Regions from separate parts of the Homo sapiens genome. Here regions 1, 3, 4, 5, 6 and 7 are each linked to region 2. Evidence: promoter capture Hi-C in 16 types of primary human blood cells and fetal thymus (Javierre and others, 2016). All regions are on one chromosome and are shown on one strand. The core of a region is centred on a gene start or on the middle of the fragment in contact, and the rest is flanking DNA. Distances in the headings are between cores, read along the strand shown.

Region 1 (2,700 bases), core at 194-2,693, 200 kb after region 2:
CTTATGCTGATGGACCATATTGGCAAGGGTGATGATCATGAAGAACTAGAATTGCTGCCACATAGCAAGGATAGGAAGGAATATATCTTGAACTAAAGGAATTCCTTGGGTGTCTCTAGGAGCTTCCAAAGCCTGGTATTAACTGTTAATGGACAAGGTCAAGAAGCACAGCCCCAAATCAGTAAAGAAACTGAAGGTTCAGATTCTTTGAGCATGATGGCCTGGGTTCACTATAGTGTTAGCTGAGGGGGAGGGAAAGCTAAAACATGTGATTCAGAAAGAAGATGAAAAATATCAGATATGGCTTTAGGATCAGCTGCATCAGCAGGAACTAGGATCTCTACCACAGAAGCTTGGGTTTGAAGGTTTTGATAGAGGTTTCAGCTGGCCACCACCTTGAAGATTCTGTGATAGTTTGGACTTAACATAGGGTTGAGCAAAGCTGGGCAGTGTGAGGGGTGGACTGCACTGGGCAGCTTATGTGCCCTGCTTCATATCATGTTGGACCACCTTTTCTCTCCTTTCCCTTCCCCTTCCTTCCCTTTCCCTTTCCCTTCCCCTTCCCCTTCCTTCCCTTTCCCTTCTCTTCTTTCTCTTTTCTTTTCTTTTGTTTTTTTTCTTCCCCCTCCCCTCCCCTCCTCTCCCCTTCCCTTCCCTCCCCTCCTCTCCCCTTCCCTCCCCTCCTCTCCCCTTCCCTCCCCTCCTCTCCCCTTCCCTCCCCTCCTCTCCCCTTCCCTCCCCTCCTCTCCCCTTCCCTCCCCTCCCCTCCTCTCCCCTTCCCTCCCCTCCTCTCCCCTTCCCTCCCCTCCCCTCCGGTCCCCTCCCCTCCTCTCCTCTCCTCTCTCCTCTTTCCTCTCCTTTCCTTTCCAGAAGGCGTCTCACTCTGTTGCCCAGGCTGGAGTGCAGTGGCACAATAATGGTTCACTGCAACCTCCACCTCCCAGACTCAAGCAATCCTCCCACCTCAGCCTCTGGAGTAGCTGGAACCACAGGTGTGTACCACAATGCCCGGCTAAATTTTGTATTTTTTTTTTTTCATAGAGACGGGATTGTGCCATGTTGTCCAGGCTGTTCTCAAACTCCTGGGCTCAAGCGACACACCTGCCTCGGCCTCCCAAAGTGCCAGGACTATAGGTGTGAGCTACCGCACCCAGTCTTGGCCCACCTTTTTAATTTCAACATTGCTATAGCAACCAGCTCATGCAGGTATATTCTGAGAACACCTTTCTTCAAACATTCCTCACTTCTCTTGCTTTCTGCCATGGGACTTCTCGGCTACTGTGATGGGAGATGTCCAGCCATTCTGATACATTAAAAAACCTGGACAGCAGTGGCTCACGCCTATAATCCCAGCACTTTGGGAGGCCGAGGTGGGTGGATGACCTGAGGTCAGGAGTTGAAGACCAGCCTGACCAACATGGAGAAACCCTGTCTCTACTAAAAATACAAAATTAGCCGGGTGTGGTGGCACATGCCTGTAATCCCAGCTACTCAGGAGGCCGAGGCAGGAGAATCGCTTGAACCCAGGAGGCGGAGGTTGCGGTGAGCCAAGATCATGCCATTGCACTCCAGCCTGGGCAACAAGAGCAAAACTTCATCTCAAAACAAAAACAAAAACACCTGGACATTTGAAGGTATTACTACCCTTCGGGGCAACCCTAGACCAGGGATGACAGAACCCTGTGGATAAATGCCCCTATATTCTTTTCTTCAGATGGACATATCCAAGGTAGATTTTATACAGATCCTCAGAGAATCCCCAGTGGGACTGGTCCTCAGGAATTCATAGAGATGATCAGCTTGAAAATGAATGCCAGTATAGGCTTTCCCTTTCCCTCTGCTCTGTTCTTCCTAGTCAATCATGCCTGTTTCCTGGGATCACTTCCTAACATAAACTACCTGTGTGCAAGTCCCTGTCTCAGGCTCTGAATTTGGTGAAACTCAGACAGAGAGAGATAAAAACTGTTCTAATTCCCTATCCTGAATATATTGGCTTTTCCCTCCTGCAAATTGTGTGTGCGTGTAACATAAATTTATAACAATAATTAATAGATTTATAAAATTAATCAGCTTTACAGTCAAGGATTGAGAGGCTTGGTTCTGAAATCTGTGTGATCATTGAAATTGCTTGGAGACGCCCTCAAACCTACCATGGCAGAATCTCCGGGGTTTTGGTCCAGAACCTTACATTTTCTTAAAATTCTATGATTCATTCTATACCAGCTGTATTCCAGAACTACTGATTGGGATGCTCTAAGTCTGTTCCAGTGACAGAGGATTAAGAACTCATGAACTCCCAGACATTGTCAAGCAAGAGGATGATGTATAGGACCCTAAACTTTCTTTAGGCAGAGAGAGTCAGAGGAAAGGCAGGTGCACATGAGATTTTCAAAAGGCTGTGTGCTCTGTCAGATGCCTCACAACATTTCCTGGTGTTACATGGGGTGGCTGATATTTTGGTTTGGCTTGATAAAATACTTTGTGAAGTTGCTGGCTTGTTCCAGTTTTGAAATTGTCATGGCATTCATTGCTTCAAAAGCTTCTTCTCTTTTCTCTGTAGATGACTATGCTCTCTTCTGCATCTGAGAGCCCTCTATTTAGTTCTAAAGGCATTCAAGTTTACAACACACGGAGAAAACAACAATCATGCTACATTTTCACTTGTTGAAAGTTCTGAGAATATAAGTTTTTAATGTGTAA
Region 2 (2,700 bases), core at 143-2,642:
GGGTGGCTTCCCATTACCCCGCCACTGATCCAGTTAACCCGGCCGGAGGTGGGCAGCTGGAAGCCTCCAGGCGGTGGGCACGCGGGGGGCCGGGTCGTCCAGCCCCGGGCCGCCGCGGCTGCCCACTACACCCACGCCAACCGCCCGCAAGCAGCGCTGCAGGGGCTCCGCTGGGCGACACGCCAGGCTCTGTCCCACAGGGTGCTGGGGAGCGACTGGGCGGCTCCGCCGCGAGCGTCTTTGAATTGCGCGCCGCTGCAGGAAACCAAAAACTCCCTAGCAAGAGGGTTTCAAAAGGTTTCTGGAAACCACCGACGGTTAAACATCACAACTGGACTCGGAGAGAGCCAAACGGTTTCCCCACTTGCACCTGCCAGTCTTCGCGGCGGCGACCTGGCAGCCCAGGTGCGGTCTTAACCGCCCCCGCCCCTCACCCCGTACCCGCTCCTATCCCCGGAGCGCAAATCTCAGGGCTGGCAGCTGCGCGGTGTCAAAGGGGAGGTCAAACCACTCCGCTGACCTCTGCACGACCCCAAACTCTCGAACTGCAGGACCCACTCGCGGCCGTGGGGAAGAGGCGCGCTTCGGACGGCGGGAAGGTTTTCCCCCTCAAACCCAAAGCGCGCGGGCGGATCAACTCCTAGCTGCTGCCACCACTCGATCCCCTCAGAGGATCGGCGCGGTGGGTCCACCCGCCTCTCCCGCCCTCTGCCTACTGTGCTGGGAGACTGGCACAGCTCCGTCGGCCGCACAGAGTTTAACAAACACGCACCCAGTGTCAAGAACAGTCACCAGGCGCTTAACCCCGAAGTTAAAGCGGGCGCAATCTCCTCCTGGGAACTCAGCCCAGGCACGCCGCCCTCCGCCTCTAAATTCAGACAATGTAACTCGCTCCAAGACATCCCCGCTTCCCCAAGGAAGAGACCGGTGGTCTGAGTCCCGAGGCAGCGCGCACGCCTTCTCTGCACTTGTGCACAGAATGTTCTTACGTTTGCAAACAGCGTGCAAGCCGCCGCGCGCGGCGGGACTCAAGGGGGAGACACATGCAGCCACTGGAACGCTCTTTCCAGTCGTTTCTCCTCGACTCACAGAGAAAAAGATTCCAATCCTGCTCCCCCCCCACCCACCCGCACTATATAGGCATGGTCAAGAAAACTCCTTTCGGTGACCCTTTTTTGGAGTACGGGTACCTCCAATGTCCTGGCCGCTTCTGCCCGCTCGGAGAGGGGCTGCGCTCTAAGTTCAAACGTTTGTACATTTATGACAAAGCAGGTTGAAACTGGACTTACACTGATCCCCTCCATGGTAACCGCTGGTTCTCCAGATGCGGTGGCTACTGGAGCACTCAGGCCCTCGGCGTCACTTTGCTACCTGCTGCCGCAGCCAACAAACTGAAGTTTCTGGCCGCGGCCGGACTTTTATAAAAACACGCTCCGAGCGCGGCGCATGCGCCGCTGGGGCGGGGAGGGAGAAGGCGGGGTGGGGGAGAGGGGCAGACGCGAGGAAGGAGGGCGCAGGGGCGGGGCGGAGAGGTGCGCGGCTTGGGAAGCCCAGGGGACCCTGCTGTTTGCGGGTGGTCGGTAGTGAGTCCGGAGCCGGACAGGACCTCCCAGAGGCATTTCCTAAGTTTGAGGGAAGCGGGATGCGCCTGAAGACAGGTGGGAAGCGCGGGCTAGGAACGCGTCTCTCTGTGGCGCGTCCATCCTTGCTAAAGTGGATGGAATTCCAGACCTGGGAATGCTACAGTAGAGACACTGAGGCCCAGGGAAGGGGAGTGACTTGCTGGAGTAACCCAACCAGTAGGCGGCAATGCTGGAAGTAGGGCCAAGCTTCCAACGCCATTCCCCGCGCTTTCAGCAGACGCAGCCCATTCAGGAGGTAAAAGGAGTAAAGATCCTTCCTTCGGAGGATGTAGCTATACTTGCACATTCACAGCATCACTAGGGTCAGGTGCAGATAATTAGGAGATACTTTCAGAAGAAGGTAGGATTTGGCATAATTCTGGAGACTGATCAGATGTAGATATGTATTGCTCAGTAATTTCATAATAGCGGTAACCAATTCGCGAATAGTGCTTTATTATCCTAAAAGTATGCTTTATTATAAGAGTAATTTAGCGACCAGTACTTTTTGTAACAGATCACTAGGAACTTGCACAGAATCACTCATTCATTCTCACAACACCGTGTGGGTATTACCATCACAGAGATGCATTTAGTCCGATATTTATAGAAGGACGAACTGCGTGCCACGCACTGTTCTAGGCGTTGGGGATCCAGCGTGAACCAGACAAGGCCCGCATTCGGAGAAACCAGCAAATAAGCCCGGAGAGATGAAATGCCAGGGATGGGCAGGGATTCCAAGCCGGGCTTGAACCCAGGTCTTCGGTCCCCATACTCGGCGTCTTCCACGATTTTGAGCAGAGGACAAGCTTTGGCACGAATCAGAAATTAGGTTGAAGAACTGGGCGGGGCGGAGTGGGGGTGGGGGTCAGACGTTTAAAGCGATCTCAGACTGGCTGAGGTTTGCAGTGGGCGCGCAGACAGTGCTTTCCCCCTCGCGCCACTTCCCTCCGGCGCGGAGACTGGGTGGGGCGGGGGAGCGAGTGTGGGGCGGGGCCGAGAAACTGCGTCCGCAGGCGGGGTGGCCGCTGCGGAGATAGCTGGGACCGAGGCGCGTGCGTCGCGACACGGACCCCAG
Region 3 (2,700 bases), core at 173-2,672, 220 kb after region 2:
AGTGGGAAAGGTGCATGTGGAAGGAGTTATGTTTTTAGAAGGTCCAGTTATTTTTCAACAAATACAATTATGGTCTGCTCATTATAGACATTTTGGAAAATGCAGAAAAGTAGAAAGAATAAAAATATGTCTATGAAGATAAATGTGGGAGGTTTCACTCTGGTGTCAGCAAAAGAAGTAGTTGTATTTTTCTTTAGCAACTGTTTGGTTTTTATCCACATTGTAGATCTTGTATCTCATCATGTCTTTAACTTTGCACAAGTTGCTAGAAAACTCTGGAATGTTCATTTGTGAAATAACTAATTATTTTTGAACAATGTTTATTAAGTGCCCACCATGTGCCAGGAACTCTGCTAGGCTCTGAGGATGTTTGACTGAGCCAAACAGATGTGTGGTTGCCCATGCATACACACCATTCATAGGCGGTGTGACCTGATGGATGTTGACAGGTGTTAATAGGACTCATGGAGTGTGTAGCTAGCACTGTGTGAGCACTTTGCATCTGTGTCAGGAAAATTTAATTTCTTCATTGTATAAATATTCTTCCAGAATTTTTCCCTTCTCCTCACTCCAAGGGGGCTAGCCCACACGATTGTGCTTTCTCCTATGGGTGAGGTTGACAGAGGACAGCTCTGCCCTCAGCTTTTGTGGAAGTCTCTTGGCATAATGTCTTGGGCAAGATTGTGGCTGGGGTCCAGGAGGAAGAGGGGAGAGAGGAGCGTAGGATGGGGGAGGAGGGTGGAATCTGAGAGACAACAGCTTCTAGAGACCTGAAAGGCAACAGAGGGGGCTGGCTGAAAGCAGTATGGACCTGTGAGTTTCTCCCTGGGGAGACTCAGAGGGGAAAGGCTGGTAGCAAACCAGGGAGGAAGACTCCAGGCACCTGTGTTCCCAGCAATAGCAAAGGCCATCAGACTCCCACTTGGGAAGAGAGTAACCCAGCCACCTGACTCAAGGGACCATGGAGACCTTGACAGTGGGCATCTGCTTGCTCACCAGGGTGAGTGATGACAGGGTGTCCCAGTGTTCCAGGATTCTTGAGACCCTTGGGCATTTGTAGAACTCATCTAAGCTGCTTGGGTCACACACTTAATCCATTTTGTGTTGCTATAACAGAATACCTGAGACTGGGTAATTTATAAAGAACAGAAATTTCTCGCAGTTCTGGAGGCTGGGAAGTCCAAGACCAAGGCACTGGCAGGTTCATTGTCTGATGAGGGTCTGGCCTCTGCTCCACACTGACACCTTGAATGCCGCATCCTCCAGAGGGGTGTGCTGTGTCTTCACCTGGCAGAGGAAGAAGGGCAAAGAGGAGCAAACTCTGTCAAGTCCTTTTATAAGGGCACCTAATTCCATTCACGAGGGAAGAGCTATAATTAGTTACTTTCCAAAGGCTTTTCCTCCCAATATTGTTGCCCTGGGGTCACCTGAATTTTGGAGGGGACACATTCAAACCATAGCACACACCAGTCTTAAGTTCTCTTTGCAAAGTAACAGTAGCCAACATTAGCTCACTCCCATCAAATGCTGTCCCACAGCACTGAACTAGCATGTTTTAGCAAGCAGAAAACACACTCTTCCTGCTACTGGCTCTTATATACTCAGAGTTCCAGCTCTCTGTCCTCCTAGGTGTTTGGAACACTACCTGCTATGCAAGATTCACTCAATACGGATTTAATATTATACCATAGGCAGGATTTTTGTCCATTTATAGGGACAAAAGCAACTGGATTTTTCCAGACCAATAGTTCAAGCAACTGGAATTTTCCAGACCAATAGCTCAGCAAGGGATTGTTGGTAGATTAAGTCTCTGTGCTGTACCTACATGTCCAAGCTGAAGGTCTTTGCTAGATTCTTATACTCAGTGTATGCAAAGATGATGAGTATCTCTCAATTATTTCAATTAGTCTTCATAGTTGACCAGTGAGGGCCTATTTCTAGCATCTTCAGGTGGACTAACATACCATTACTATTATCAATTATATTAGTTTCCTGTGACTGACATAAGAAATTTCTGTAAACTTGGTGGCTTAAAACAGCAGAAATGTATCCTCTTTCAGCTCTGGAGGCCACAAGTCCAAGATTAAAGTATCAGCAGAGATGTGTTCCCTCCAGAGGCTCTAGGGAAGAATTTGTTCCCTGACTCTTCTAGCTTCTGGTGGCTCCAGGCATTCCTTGGCTTGCAGTGGCATTGCTCTAACCTCTGCCTGTCTTGACATTACCTCTTCCTCTTCGGTAGGTGTAATCTGCCACTGCCTCTTTCTCATAAGGACATTTATCATTAGACTTAGGGTCTACCTGGCTAATCTAGGATAATCTCTTTATCTGAAGATCCTTCATTACATCTGCAAAGAGTCTTTTTCCAAATAAGGTAACACTCATATTCATATTGATGAATAAGGCCCCCTAAAATGATGTATCAACATCCTAATCCCTGGAATCTTATTTATCACTGTGAATACGAGTGTTGCCCATATCTGTTTACATAGCATCTGTGTGTGTATTAGTATGTCCTTGCACTGCTGTAAAGAAATACCTGAGACTGGGTAATTTATAACAAAAAGAGGTTTGATTGGCGCACAGTTCTGCGGGCTGTGCAGGAAACATGGTGGCATCTGCTTGGCTTTTGGGGAGGCCTCTGGAAACTTACAATCATGGCAAAGGCAAAGGGGGAGCAAGGCATCTCACATGGTGGGAGCA
Region 4 (2,700 bases), core at 106-2,605, 190 kb before region 2:
GTATCTCTTGTACTAGTACTTAATATTTTCCTTTAAATCACATTTTAAAACTTAACTAACTCTAAGCAATAATATCCATGAAAACATGGATTTTATTTGCTGGTTATATTGTATAGCTATTAAAATAAAAAATGTTCATCTGTTTAACACCCAGAAATCACTGTGTACCTTCAGTGGTAAAGGTACCATACTTGGGAAAACACTGCAAAACCACTGAAATGTCATGTAAGTTTCAATATATTGGCATTAAAACTATATTGCCAGGATAATCTCTTATACTACAAAATTACGAAACTTCTCTTAAAGAGTTGAGATTTTAATTTTTAGTTTGGAAAATATGTATTGAAAGTAATGAGCTAGGCAATGTGTTAGAAGATGGGCTATTGATATTATCTAATTTTTCTTTGTTTAAGCGTTTTGTGGCTTTGTTAATAGAAAGTTTCAGGGAGATATGGCAAATAGGCTTATTTCCAATCAGTTAGTGGAGGCTGCCCTGAGTGCTGTGTGGCTACTTTAAGCTCATCAAGAATATTATGTATATGGTATGTTGTGCCTGACTGGGGGCATTTGCCATGAATGTAATTCTTTTCTCTTGGACAGACTGGTAACTTAAGTCAAGGCAAGTACATGAGTTAAGGGGCTAACAGTCTGTCCAAGAGAAAAGAATGGTGAAGACAAAGGTGACAAATTTCAAAACAAAAATATGTAATTGATAAGATGAAACCACACCATAATAGCAGATACTTTTCATTCATTAACCCACAGGGTCAAAGTAGGGTTCATTAGTGAACTATAAAATATATGCTCAGATAGCTATTTTCTTAATCCCTGCATGCCAAAATAGACCTAAACATTCAGGAAAAAAAGTTACAGAATTACATAGTAGGGGCTATTTGATAGTGTGATTTCAGAGGTAGCATTGAGGATAATGTGGTGTATTAGCAAACAAAGAGAACTTTAGGAATGCCATGGGGTCTCAAGGGTTAGGATGCCCATGAGTCCTGAATTGTCTATCCCCTTGGCATGTGAAACCAAGTGGCAAAAAAGAGCTGATGATTCACCTTTAAAGATGGCTCAGTTTCTATGCTTACCTGGCAACCCAAGGGAGGGCATCCCTATTAAGGAGACCTCACACTACTAGTCTTATCTCCCCAACAAAATGATGTGTTCTTTGAAGATGACCAATACATATTCCACAGTATAAGAAACCTGTAATACGAACATAATAAATATTTTGTAGACTAGCTATAGTACAGGGGGTCTAGATAAAGAAATAAAAGAAATAGACTAATTTTGAACCAACGAATCCATTTGTATTTGGGAAAAGTACTTAAACAATGATTCTCAAGAGGGAAGACTAACATTTACTCCTAGGACAACCTTCACCTGTACCTAAGAGTGAGGTGAAATAAAGGGGACAATTCTGATCTAAAGGGAACTCTCCTGAATAGATTCTGAGAAAACCCTCCTAACAACCTGCTAACCTATGAGGATGAAGCTAATTTGCCGTGCCAATCTGGAATATGAGTTATGTGAGTGCTATGTATGAAAAGGGTGCCAAAGACATTTTAATTCACTTTTCTAGGAATGAAAATTGCTTTAACCTTCTTGGGGGCTGGAAGGTGAAGTATTTTTAATCAGGGCACCTGCCTGTAAAGTTCAGAGAGAAAACCATTCATATACGAGAAAAAAGTCAGGCTACACTAGAACCTGACGGAGGATATATCTTAGAACGTTTGTATTATAGAAGAAGAATGGCAATTTTGCCTTTTATTTCCAAATTCTTTAGCCCTTGACTTTGCTGAGAGTCTATGAAAGAGCTAGTTGGGGACTAAATTAGATAGTAGTTTATTTTTTATTTGTTGAGACAGGATCTTGCTCTGTTGCCCAGACTGGAGTGCAGTGGTACAAACATAGCTCACTGCAGACTCAACCTCCTGGGCTCAAGCAATCCTCCTGCTTCAGCCTCCTGAGTAGCTGGGACCACAGATGCATGCCATCATACTTGGCTAATTTTTAAATTTTTTAAGGAGACAGGGGTCTTGCCATGTTGCCCAGGCTGGTTTTAAACTCGTGTGCTCAAGCATTCTTCCCACCTCAGGCTCCCAAAGTGTTGGGATTACAGGTGTGAGACACTGCACCAAACCAAGACAGTAGTTTAGAAGGAAACGAAGGTGCTTAAAAACTTAAAGTTACTAATGTACACAACATCTCCCAAAATGTAAAGTCAAAGTAAGAGTTAAGCATGTGAACGCTTGCAAGGGCCAAATAACATGAATGAATGAAATGAATGATATTTGCTGGGTGGTGCAGGGCAAAGCAAAAGACAGTGTAAGAATCCTGTATATGTCCTATCTAGCATGCTAGCTCATGTTCCAGATTCTCCTCTTTTTAAGAAGTGCCATCCAGATTTTAATGTGAAAACCCATTTTTCAATGGTGGCAATGAATTTAAACAAAACAATACAACCCAAAACCCAAAAACTCCTCAGGTCAAATTCTAGAGGCACAAACCAATAATAACTTGTGTGAACAACTAGCAAGGGCAAATAAATAAAGAATGATGTCTCACTCCTGTGGCCAACATACATGAAAAACCTGAGGTTTCTAGGTAGTATCAAGAGGACTTTGGATTACTGCTTGCTTTTCATATACAAATTAAAATGGAAAAGGTAGAAGACAAAAAGCAAATAATTAGGAA
Region 5 (2,700 bases), core at 103-2,602, 240 kb after region 2:
GGACGTTTTTCATTTTTCTTGGATATATACCTAGGGGTGGAATTTCTGGGTCCTGTGGTGACTCTAGGTTTAACTTTTTGAGAAACTGCCACTATTTTCCAAAGGGGCTGCACCATTTTCCATTCTCACCAGCAGTATATGGGGGTTCGTCGTCCACATCCTCTCAATGCTTATTATTGTCTGTCTTTTTATTGTAGCCATCTTAGTGGGTGTGAAGTGGCAGTCCTCTCATTTTGAGAATGAATAAGCTGAGGGCAGAGAGGAGCTGTGACCTGTTTAGCATCATTGTCTGTCAGTCTCTGGACAGCAAATCTCTGTAACTCCCAATCTGATGCATGTTCCCATCAGAACAGGCATCCTTTCTCAACATTGAGAAAGGAGCAAAGGCAGAGCAGGAAGTGAGGCTGCAATGAAGCCAGGCTTCCCCCACCAGCTATTATGATAGAACTCAATGGCTCACCATGAGTGGAGGATGGCAGCAGTGGGCCTCGGGGGAGGGGGTTCCCACCCAGTGGGCAGTCTGGCTGGGGTTTGCCCAGGCCCTTGCAGGCCTCACTTTACTTTCTAAACTTTTCTTTGATGGCAGAGAGCTTCAACAATGACATAAATTGGCTTCACCTACACATGATTGAGAACCTATTCAAAACTAGTCATAGTTTTACACGTTGGAGCCAAGATAGGAGGTAAATAAAATGGGGCTGAAATTCAACATACAAATGTATAGTCTCAATATGATTCTGTCAAGTGTTGACAACAGAAGGTAGAAGTAGGGCACAAAGGGAACACAGACAAGGGGCTCCAACCCATTCTGGAAAAGTGGAGCAGGAGCTGAAGGTTGAAGGCCTTAAAGTGATGGTGGGAAGCTTGCCAGGCTTGCTCTGCAGACAGAGGTGGGTGAAGTATACAAGCAACTTCCCTGGGAAGGGAGGGAATGGCTTTGAAAGTCAAGTAGCAAGTCCAACAGCCCAAGGCTGCAGTGCCTTGGTGGGTCTCAACAGAGCTTTGCACAGCTGAAAAAGCATTCCTAGCAATGGGCCTATCAGCTTTATATGTGCCGGACCTATAAGCAACCCAACACATAGAATGCAAGCTGAGGACTTTTGGACAAGTGCTAAGAGGTGGAGTGAGAAAGGCGAGCATGGACTAGCTGAGAAAATAACCCTCACAGCCACGAATCAAGCTCTGTGCTTGAATGTGTACCTTATGGAAAGTATGAGGTATCAGGCTGGCTTTGTTGGTAACTCCTCCCCGACATGCAGCATGACTATTTTTCAGTTATGAAGGAAATATTATATCCCAAACAGCCCTACAAATAAAGCCTACTTTGATTCATCTTTTCCATCTTGGTTTGCATAATGCACCATTTTTTTTTTTTAAACATCAGTGTGGTTTCTGCCCAGGTGGGCCTCAGCAAATTGTGAAATAGCTGAGGTTTCTTCCTCAGACCATGTAAGGCTATTATAACTCCACCTCCTCCTGATATACTGTGGAGAGTGATGTATACAGGTGTAATGTGCCCTAGGTGCTGTTACTGTAAAGTTGAATACATTTTTTATTTTAAACCTTGGTTTTAAACTCTTTACTCTTGCAAGTTGTGTTTCCAGTGCTTTGTGCTGGTAGAGATATCTGCTGAGTTCGCTTTGAGGGTCTTTTATATGAAAATCTAAGATCGGTTGACTAGTGACCTTGGCATGCAAACATGAATGTTTGCAGCAAATTTCAGCTGATATTCAAAGTTATTTCTAGTGTAAGAATTCTGGCAGGCTCTAGAATTTATACCTAGGAACATGTAGGAATGGTAATTTTTGAGTTATAAGAGGGTGAGAGAGTAGGAACCTGTCTAAAGCTTTTAAAATAAATTGGTTAGATTATATATTACCAATTGATAAAGAAATATTTCTTAAGACATTTAGTCACATTTTAAGTAGGTGAGGAGATGGTAATTGTTCATATCACAGAATGTTATTTTTAAAAATTGGGATTGCTAGGTGGGTGCCCCAGGTCTCTAAACTAGTGGTCCCTAACCTTTTTGGCACCAGGGACCAGTTTCATGGAAGAAAATTTTTCCATGGACCCAGGGAGGGGGGATGGTTTCAGGATGATTCAAGGGCATTACATTTATTGTGCTTTCTTTTCTTTTCTTTTTTTTTTTCTTTTCTTTCTTTTTTTTTGAGACAGGGTCTCTCTCTGTCACCCAGGCTGGAGTGCAGCCAATCTCGAGATTGCACCAACCTCCACTCACTGCAACCTCTGCTTCCCAGGTTCAAGCAATTCTTCCACTTCAGACTCCCACATAGCTGGGACCACAGGCATGCACCACTATGCCCAGTGAATTTTTGTATTTTTAGTAGAGACGGGGTTTCACCCCATTGGCCAGGCTGGTCTCAAACTCCTGACCTCAAGTGATCTGCCTGCCGTGGCCTCCCAAAGTGCTGGGATTGCAGGCGTGAGCCACTGCGCCTGGCCTGTGTAAATGAAATAATTATACAACTCACCATCAGGTAGAATCAGTGGGAGCCCTAAGCTTGTTTTCCTGCAACTAGATGGTCCTGTCTAGGGGTAATGGGAGACAATGACAGATCAGCAGGCCTTAGATTCTCATGAGGAAAGCACAACCTAGATCCCTCGCATGTGCAGCTTTGCGCTCTATGAGAATCTAATGCCACCTGTGATCTGACAGGAGGCAGGGCTCAGGCAGTA
Region 6 (2,700 bases), core at 156-2,655, 240 kb before region 2:
TTCGTGTTTAATGGGCACAGAATGTCAGTTTGGAAGATGAAAAGAGTTTGGAGCCGGACACGGTGGCTCACGCCTGTAATCACTTTGGGAAGCCCAGGCGGGGGGATCACCTGAGGTCGGGAGTTCAAGACCAGCCTGACCAACATGGAGAAACCCCATCTCTACTAAAATACCAAATTAGCCGGGCGTGGTGGCGCATGCCTGTAATTCCAGCTAGTAGGGAGGCTGAGGCAGGAGAATAGCTTGAACCCGGGAGACGGAGGTTGCGGTGAGCTGAGATGGTGACACTGCACTCCGGCCTGGGCAACAAGGGCTAAATTACGCCTCAAAAAAAAAAAAGTTTGGAGATGGGAGAGTGGTGACGGCTGCACAACGAGGTGAATGCACTTAGTGCCACTGGACTCTACACTTAAAAATGGCTAAAATGGTCAACTTTGTTATGTATATTTTACTAAAAAAGAACTTCAAAAGCCATTCCAAACTGCTGACCCTTCATCCTGGAGGCCGTGGTGTATCTGCTCCAGGAAAAATAACCGGTGGGTGAGGCAAGCCAGGGAGGAGGTTGGGGTTATGAAGCTAGGAGCCCAGAGGCACAGAAAAAAAGAAGAGTAGAGAAAGGAAAGGAAGGCCAGAGGGAAAGGGGAGCAAGGGACCCAGAAGAAGGGATATGGTGAGCTACTCTCTGCAGGGCAGGGCTCCGCCCCCCAGCAGCTTTCAAACCACAGTTGACGCAGAAACTTTCATCAGCACAAGAGGCGAGGGTGGCCCGTGCCCTGCGAACCCCCAGCACCATGCTCCCGGCTGCGTGGCCCAGCAGGGCACCGACGAGATTCAATGGCACTTCGGCCTCCCACTCGACCTGGCCGCACCCAGCGGCCCAGTTACTATACTCAGCGAGCCCAGGTTTCCGCGCCGGTCACCGAGGGCTGTGCAAATACCAGGCTCGCGGGGTGGTGAGCATCAAGTGACAGAAGCAAAGCGCTGAGCACTGGGCACGAGCGTCTTAGGGCTCGAGATGGGTTTTACTCCAGAAAAACCCAGCCTGTCCCAGGCTCCTCGCGGCCGCCGGGCTCGGAGCCTAAAGTTGGGGGGCGGGCGGGGAGGCGCTTCCCGGACGCGCGACCCCCAGGTTCCGGAACACCCGCCGCCCACACGGCACCGCCTGGCCCAGACGCCGCAGGCTCCGGAGGCGGGCGAGGCCCGGGGCGCTCGCCGACTTACTCCTCCAAGAAGTCCAGGAACAGTTTCTGGCACTTCTCGGCCACCTCGTCGCGGACCTCCAGGTGCTGGCTGCCGGCGCCCGGCTCCGCTGCCGCCGCGAGGTCCATATTTGCTTAGTGCCGAGGATTCGCCTGCGCCACGCTCGACCGCCACAAGTCGCTTTTTTCCAGACGCTGCAGCTTTGCGCGCGCCGCCGCCGCTTCCGCCCCGCCCCCTCTTCCGACCTGCACGGCCGGAACCAATCGTGACACAGGAGCTGGAGATTTCGCGCCAAACCTGACCAATGAACGGCGCCTCTCCAAGAGCCCCAGCCCACGGAAAGGGATTTCGCGCCAAATGCAAAGCCCTTCTGGAGAAAGCCCATCTGCCTTTGCGCCTGCGCAGTGTAGCCGTGGCCCGCGGGTATTTTTGGCTGCTGGAACAAGTTCGAATCTGAGGGTTTTGTCCGAGTGGTTTTTCAAATGTTCTTTAAATCATTCCACTGATATTAATTGAACGATCGGAGTAAGACTCTATGGAAGAGAAAAATGAGTAAGCCGCTTCTGCTGTCTAGTTAGAGGAAATAATGGAAACCACAGTATAAAACCCTGTAAAAGAGTCAAAGAGATGTCTAAACCTTGCATGGGTAAGGTGGCACAATTATTGTGGTGGTGCTGACCGAGGAAAATCAGCGAAATATTTGACATTGGCCGGGCGCGGTGGCTCACAACCTGTAATCCTAGCACTTTGGGAGGCCGAGGCGTGTGGATCACCTGAGGTCAGGAGTTCGAGACCACCCTGGCCAACATGCAGAAACCCCATCTCCCCTAAAAATACAAAAATTAGTCGGGCGTGGTGGTGCACGCCTGTAATCCCAGCTACTCGGGTGGCCGAGGCAGGAGAATCGCTTGAACCTGGGAGGAGGAGGTTGCAGTGGGCCGAGATCGTGTCACTGCACTCCAGCCTGGGCAACACAGTGTGACTCCGTCTCAAAAAAAAAAAAAAAAAAAAGAAAGAAAAAGAAAAAGAAAGAAATATTTGACACTTTGATTAATCTTTTTTTCTTTTTCTTTTCTTTTTTTTTTCAGATGAAGTCTCACCCAGTCGCTCAGGCTCGAGAGCAGTGGCGCGATCTCGGGTCACTGCAACCTCCAGCTCCCGGGTCCAGGGGATTCTCCTGCCTCAGCCTCCTGAATAGCTGGGATTGTAGGCGCCCGCTACCATGCCCAGCCAATTTTTGTATTTTTAGTAGAGACAGGGTTTTCGCCATGTTGGCCAGGCTGCTCTCAAACTCCTGACCTCAGGTGATCCGTCTGCCTCGACCTCCCAAAGCGCTGGGATTACGGCCGTGAGCCACAGCGCCCGGCCTTAATACCCTTCTTAAAATGCACTATTGGCTTGAGTTATCCTTATGTTTTTTTCCCCCATCTTTCCCTAACCATTTCACTTGGTTTTTCTGCCATCTCTTTGGCCATTCCTGATTAGCATCCTTTGTAGGCG
Region 7 (2,700 bases), core at 135-2,634, 210 kb before region 2:
TCAGACACACTTCTGGTCCCAAGCATTTTGGATAAGGGATACTCAATCTATACTTTCTTTATCCATTCATCCACTGATGGACACTAAGGTCATTTCTATATCTTGGCTATTGTAAATAATGCTGCATTGAACATCAGAGTGCACAAATCTCTTCAACATGCTGATTTCATTTCCCTTGGTATGTAAGACCAGAAATGGAATTTCTGAATCATATGGTAATTCTCTTTGTAATGTTTAGAAGAATCTCCATCCTGTTTTTCATAATGGCTGTACCAATTTTACATTCCCATCAACTATTTACAAACAAGGATTCCCTTTTCTCCACATCCTTACCAACAATTATCCATTACCTTTTTACTAACAGCCAGAGGTGTGAGATGGTTATCTCATTGAGGTTTTAATTTATATTTCCCTAATGTTTAGTGATGTTGAGCATTTTTTCATATACCTATTGGCCATTTATATGTAGGTTTTACATTTAGGCCTTTGATCCATTTTGAGTTAATTTTTGTATATGATGTTAGGTAAGGGTCTAATTTCAATCTTCTGCAAATGGACATTAGTTTTTTCTGTACCATCTGTTGAAAAAACTGTCTCTCGACCAATTTTAATTTGAAAATTTTGTAAGTACATTTTGTATTTTCCAAAAAACCCCAAAACAAACAACAAATAAAAACTTCAATGAAACTATACATTCAAAAAATTTTTTAAGAGTGTTTGATATGGACATCCAAAGATGAGTTAAATATTTGCTCATTTTAAATTGCAGAGCAGTCCCTTACATATACTGTAGAAGTGATCTTAAAGTGAATCAAGTGCTGCATCTCAATAAAAACACTTAGCAGCTCTTTGAGCTATTTTAAGGTAGAGCTTTAATTTGTGCTAATGCGAATGAACTCACAGCAGCAGAGAGAAAACAGGATACTCCACTTACAAGACATTTGGCTTCTAAATTCTTAAGAGAAAAAAAATGGCTAGAACTTTATGACAATAATATTTTATAACACACAAGTTAGCTGTTTATTTTGTTTCTTGGAAATCAAATTTTCACTTATGTCGTAATTCACTTTTAAAAATTCTTGTAATTCAAATTTGTATTATACTTAGAACTTATGAACTTATTTGTAAGCAATAACAGAATATTACCAATGCCTCCACCAGCATGAGGAGGGGCTCCAAAGCGGAAGGAATCAATGTAAGCCTTAATTTTCTCCAAATCTGCAAAAAGACACAAAACAAAATATAATTTATCATCTTATTTATCTTAAAAGGTCACAAAAGCAATTACTGTTCAATGGAGATTTTTAAAAAGACTGAGAAGTCTTTTAAATGTTTACAATGTATTATTTTCAGAATATACACTCCCCTAAATTATTTTAAGTTGTTTACCAATTCCATGATGTAAAGCTCTCTCTGTTAGCAGTTGAGGATCATGTATTCTTTGAGCTCCTGACAATATTTCTTCTCCTCTCATGAACATATCGTAAGAGTTGGACTGTTTCTGCAAGAGAAAAAACACCAGTCCTCAAGTGACTACCATCCTATTTCTATTACATATATACGGAAAAAAATCTCTGCTGCATGAAGAGCAAGTTCATTTTTTCCTACAATTAACAATGCAATCTTGTTCTCTAAAGTAGAATTAAACTACTGAGGGCTGAATAACTTTTTCTTTGTTTATATCAGATTCTGTGCTCTCCTCCCACACCCCCCAATAACAAATCAGAGCATCACATCTAATTTTTAAGAAGCAGTGCTGATCCTTATTTCACTTTATCATCTGAGATGTTTTTAAGAATGATATTATTTTGGGGTGACTTTTGGAACTCCAAGTTATTAACAGGTGTGAGTCTTTAAATTATTATTATTTTTACTTTAATCCCCTGTCTTTCAATAAACCAGTGGTTCCCAAAGTGTGATTCCTGGACCAGTAGCTTCAGTATTACCAGAAATTTTTTACTTGGTCTGGAGTGGGGCCTGCAAATTATCAGGCTCCCATTCCACAGCAACTAATGAGAAATTCTGCCTCAGCAACTGGTGTTTTAAAAAGCCCTCCAGGTGATTCTGATGCATGGTAAAGTTTAGAAACCACTGCAATGGAAAAACGGTAAAAGACCGTAAGACATTATTTAGATTATTAACTCCCAGGATACAATGTGAATTCCCAGTTTAAGGTCAATGACAGGATGATTTACTAAAGTATGCAAATCTAGTAGTACTATTTATAATTTACATAGTCTTTCTCTCTCATAAATCTTCAGAAAAATGACCAAGTAAAATGATTTTAACATAGGTTTTTAAAACTAATTTTCTAGAATATTCAAATTTTACAATATCATTTTGACCAGTGGTGACAGACATCAATGGTAATACGTATGTCTATCAAAACTGCAAATTATTAATGAAAACCATTATTCCTATTATACAATCTGACAGTGACAATAAAATTTCCCTTCTGCCTCAAAATGGGTTACTTAAAACCAAATTACTTACGGGATTTCTTGGGTCAGGCATGGTATAGAAAGGTCTTACAGCCAATGGATATTTATCAAGAATATAAAAATCTGTATCATACTATAAAAAGAATAAATGCAATTAAAATACATTTTTAAAAAGTAAAATGGCTAACATTTTGGTAATTAACTTTATACAAAAATTTTGGTTCTTCGTAATTACTCTAATTATATTGTATATACAATG

What was found. The method cuts DNA at HindIII sites, captures the fragments that hold promoters and counts their contacts. A CHiCAGO score of 5 or more calls a contact.
Region 1: a contact is called between a fragment that was not itself captured here and the fragment with the promoter of CXCR4 in region 2, in 10 of 17 cell types (activated CD4 T cells, total CD4 T cells, fetal thymus and 7 more). The highest score is 12.3, in activated CD4 T cells.
Region 3: a contact is called between a fragment that was not itself captured here and the fragment with the promoter of CXCR4 in region 2, in 11 of 17 cell types (total CD8 T cells, non-activated CD4 T cells, monocytes and 8 more). The highest score is 15.3, in total CD8 T cells.
Region 4: a fragment that was not itself captured here is called in contact with the fragment with the promoter of CXCR4 in region 2 in 14 of 17 cell types (neutrophils, activated CD4 T cells, monocytes and 11 more); the score reaches 20.3 in neutrophils.
Region 5: a contact is called between a fragment that was not itself captured here and the fragment with the promoter of CXCR4 in region 2, in 11 of 17 cell types (activated CD4 T cells, monocytes, total CD4 T cells and 8 more). The highest score is 16.7, in activated CD4 T cells.
Region 6: a contact is called between the fragment with the promoter of MCM6 here and the fragment with the promoter of CXCR4 in region 2, in 1 of 17 cell types (fetal thymus). The highest score is 5.5, in fetal thymus.
Region 7: a fragment that was not itself captured here is called in contact with the fragment with the promoter of CXCR4 in region 2 in 16 of 17 cell types (naive CD4 T cells, total CD4 T cells, naive CD8 T cells and 13 more); the score reaches 20.6 in naive CD4 T cells.

Annotation. Positions count from the first base shown.
Region 1 is chr2:136,313,953-136,316,652 of GRCh38, forward strand. No RefSeq gene overlaps it. Among named protein-coding and RNA genes, the nearest start is that of CXCR4, 200 kb to the left of the region's middle. The HindIII fragment of the contact is 2,187 bases long and covers 351-2,537 here.
Region 2 is chr2:136,116,757-136,119,456 of GRCh38, forward strand. It overlaps CXCR4 (C-X-C motif chemokine receptor 4), which reads right to left and starts at 1,393. Exons shown (of 2, transcript NM_003467.3): 1 at 1,290-1,393. The coding sequence starts at 1,304. RefSeq lists a silencer at 15-184 and an enhancer at 315-384. The HindIII fragment of the contact is 7,141 bases long and covers 1-1,827 here.
Region 3 is chr2:136,332,210-136,334,909 of GRCh38, forward strand. No RefSeq gene overlaps it. Among named protein-coding and RNA genes, the nearest start is that of CXCR4, 220 kb to the left of the region's middle. The HindIII fragment of the contact is 3,277 bases long and covers 1-2,700 here.
Region 4 is chr2:135,929,391-135,932,090 of GRCh38, forward strand. The region is part of intron 7 of DARS1 (aspartyl-tRNA synthetase 1); the gene reads right to left. It overlaps LOC124906078 (a long non-coding RNA gene), which reads right to left. Exons shown (of 2, transcript XR_007087246.1): 1 at 1,092-2,700. Among named protein-coding and RNA genes, the nearest start is that of MCM6, 54 kb to the left of the region's middle. The HindIII fragment of the contact is 5,919 bases long and covers 1-2,700 here.
Region 5 is chr2:136,358,310-136,361,009 of GRCh38, forward strand. No RefSeq gene overlaps it. Among named protein-coding and RNA genes, the nearest start is that of CXCR4, 240 kb to the left of the region's middle. The HindIII fragment of the contact is 983 bases long and covers 862-1,844 here.
Region 6 is chr2:135,875,038-135,877,737 of GRCh38, forward strand. MCM6 (minichromosome maintenance complex component 6) reads right to left here and starts at 1,406. Exons shown (of 17, transcript NM_005915.6): 1 at 1,222-1,406. The coding sequence starts at 1,328. RefSeq lists enhancers at 496-1,031, 801-930, 1,621-1,680 and a silencer at 1,001-1,160. The HindIII fragment of the contact is 12,304 bases long and covers 1-2,700 here.
Region 7 is chr2:135,909,993-135,912,692 of GRCh38, forward strand. DARS1 (aspartyl-tRNA synthetase 1) reads right to left here. Exons shown (of 16, transcript NM_001349.4): 13 at 2,494-2,574; 14 at 1,390-1,501; 15 at 1,147-1,218. Among named protein-coding and RNA genes, the nearest start is that of MCM6, 35 kb to the left of the region's middle. The HindIII fragment of the contact is 7,312 bases long and covers 1-2,700 here.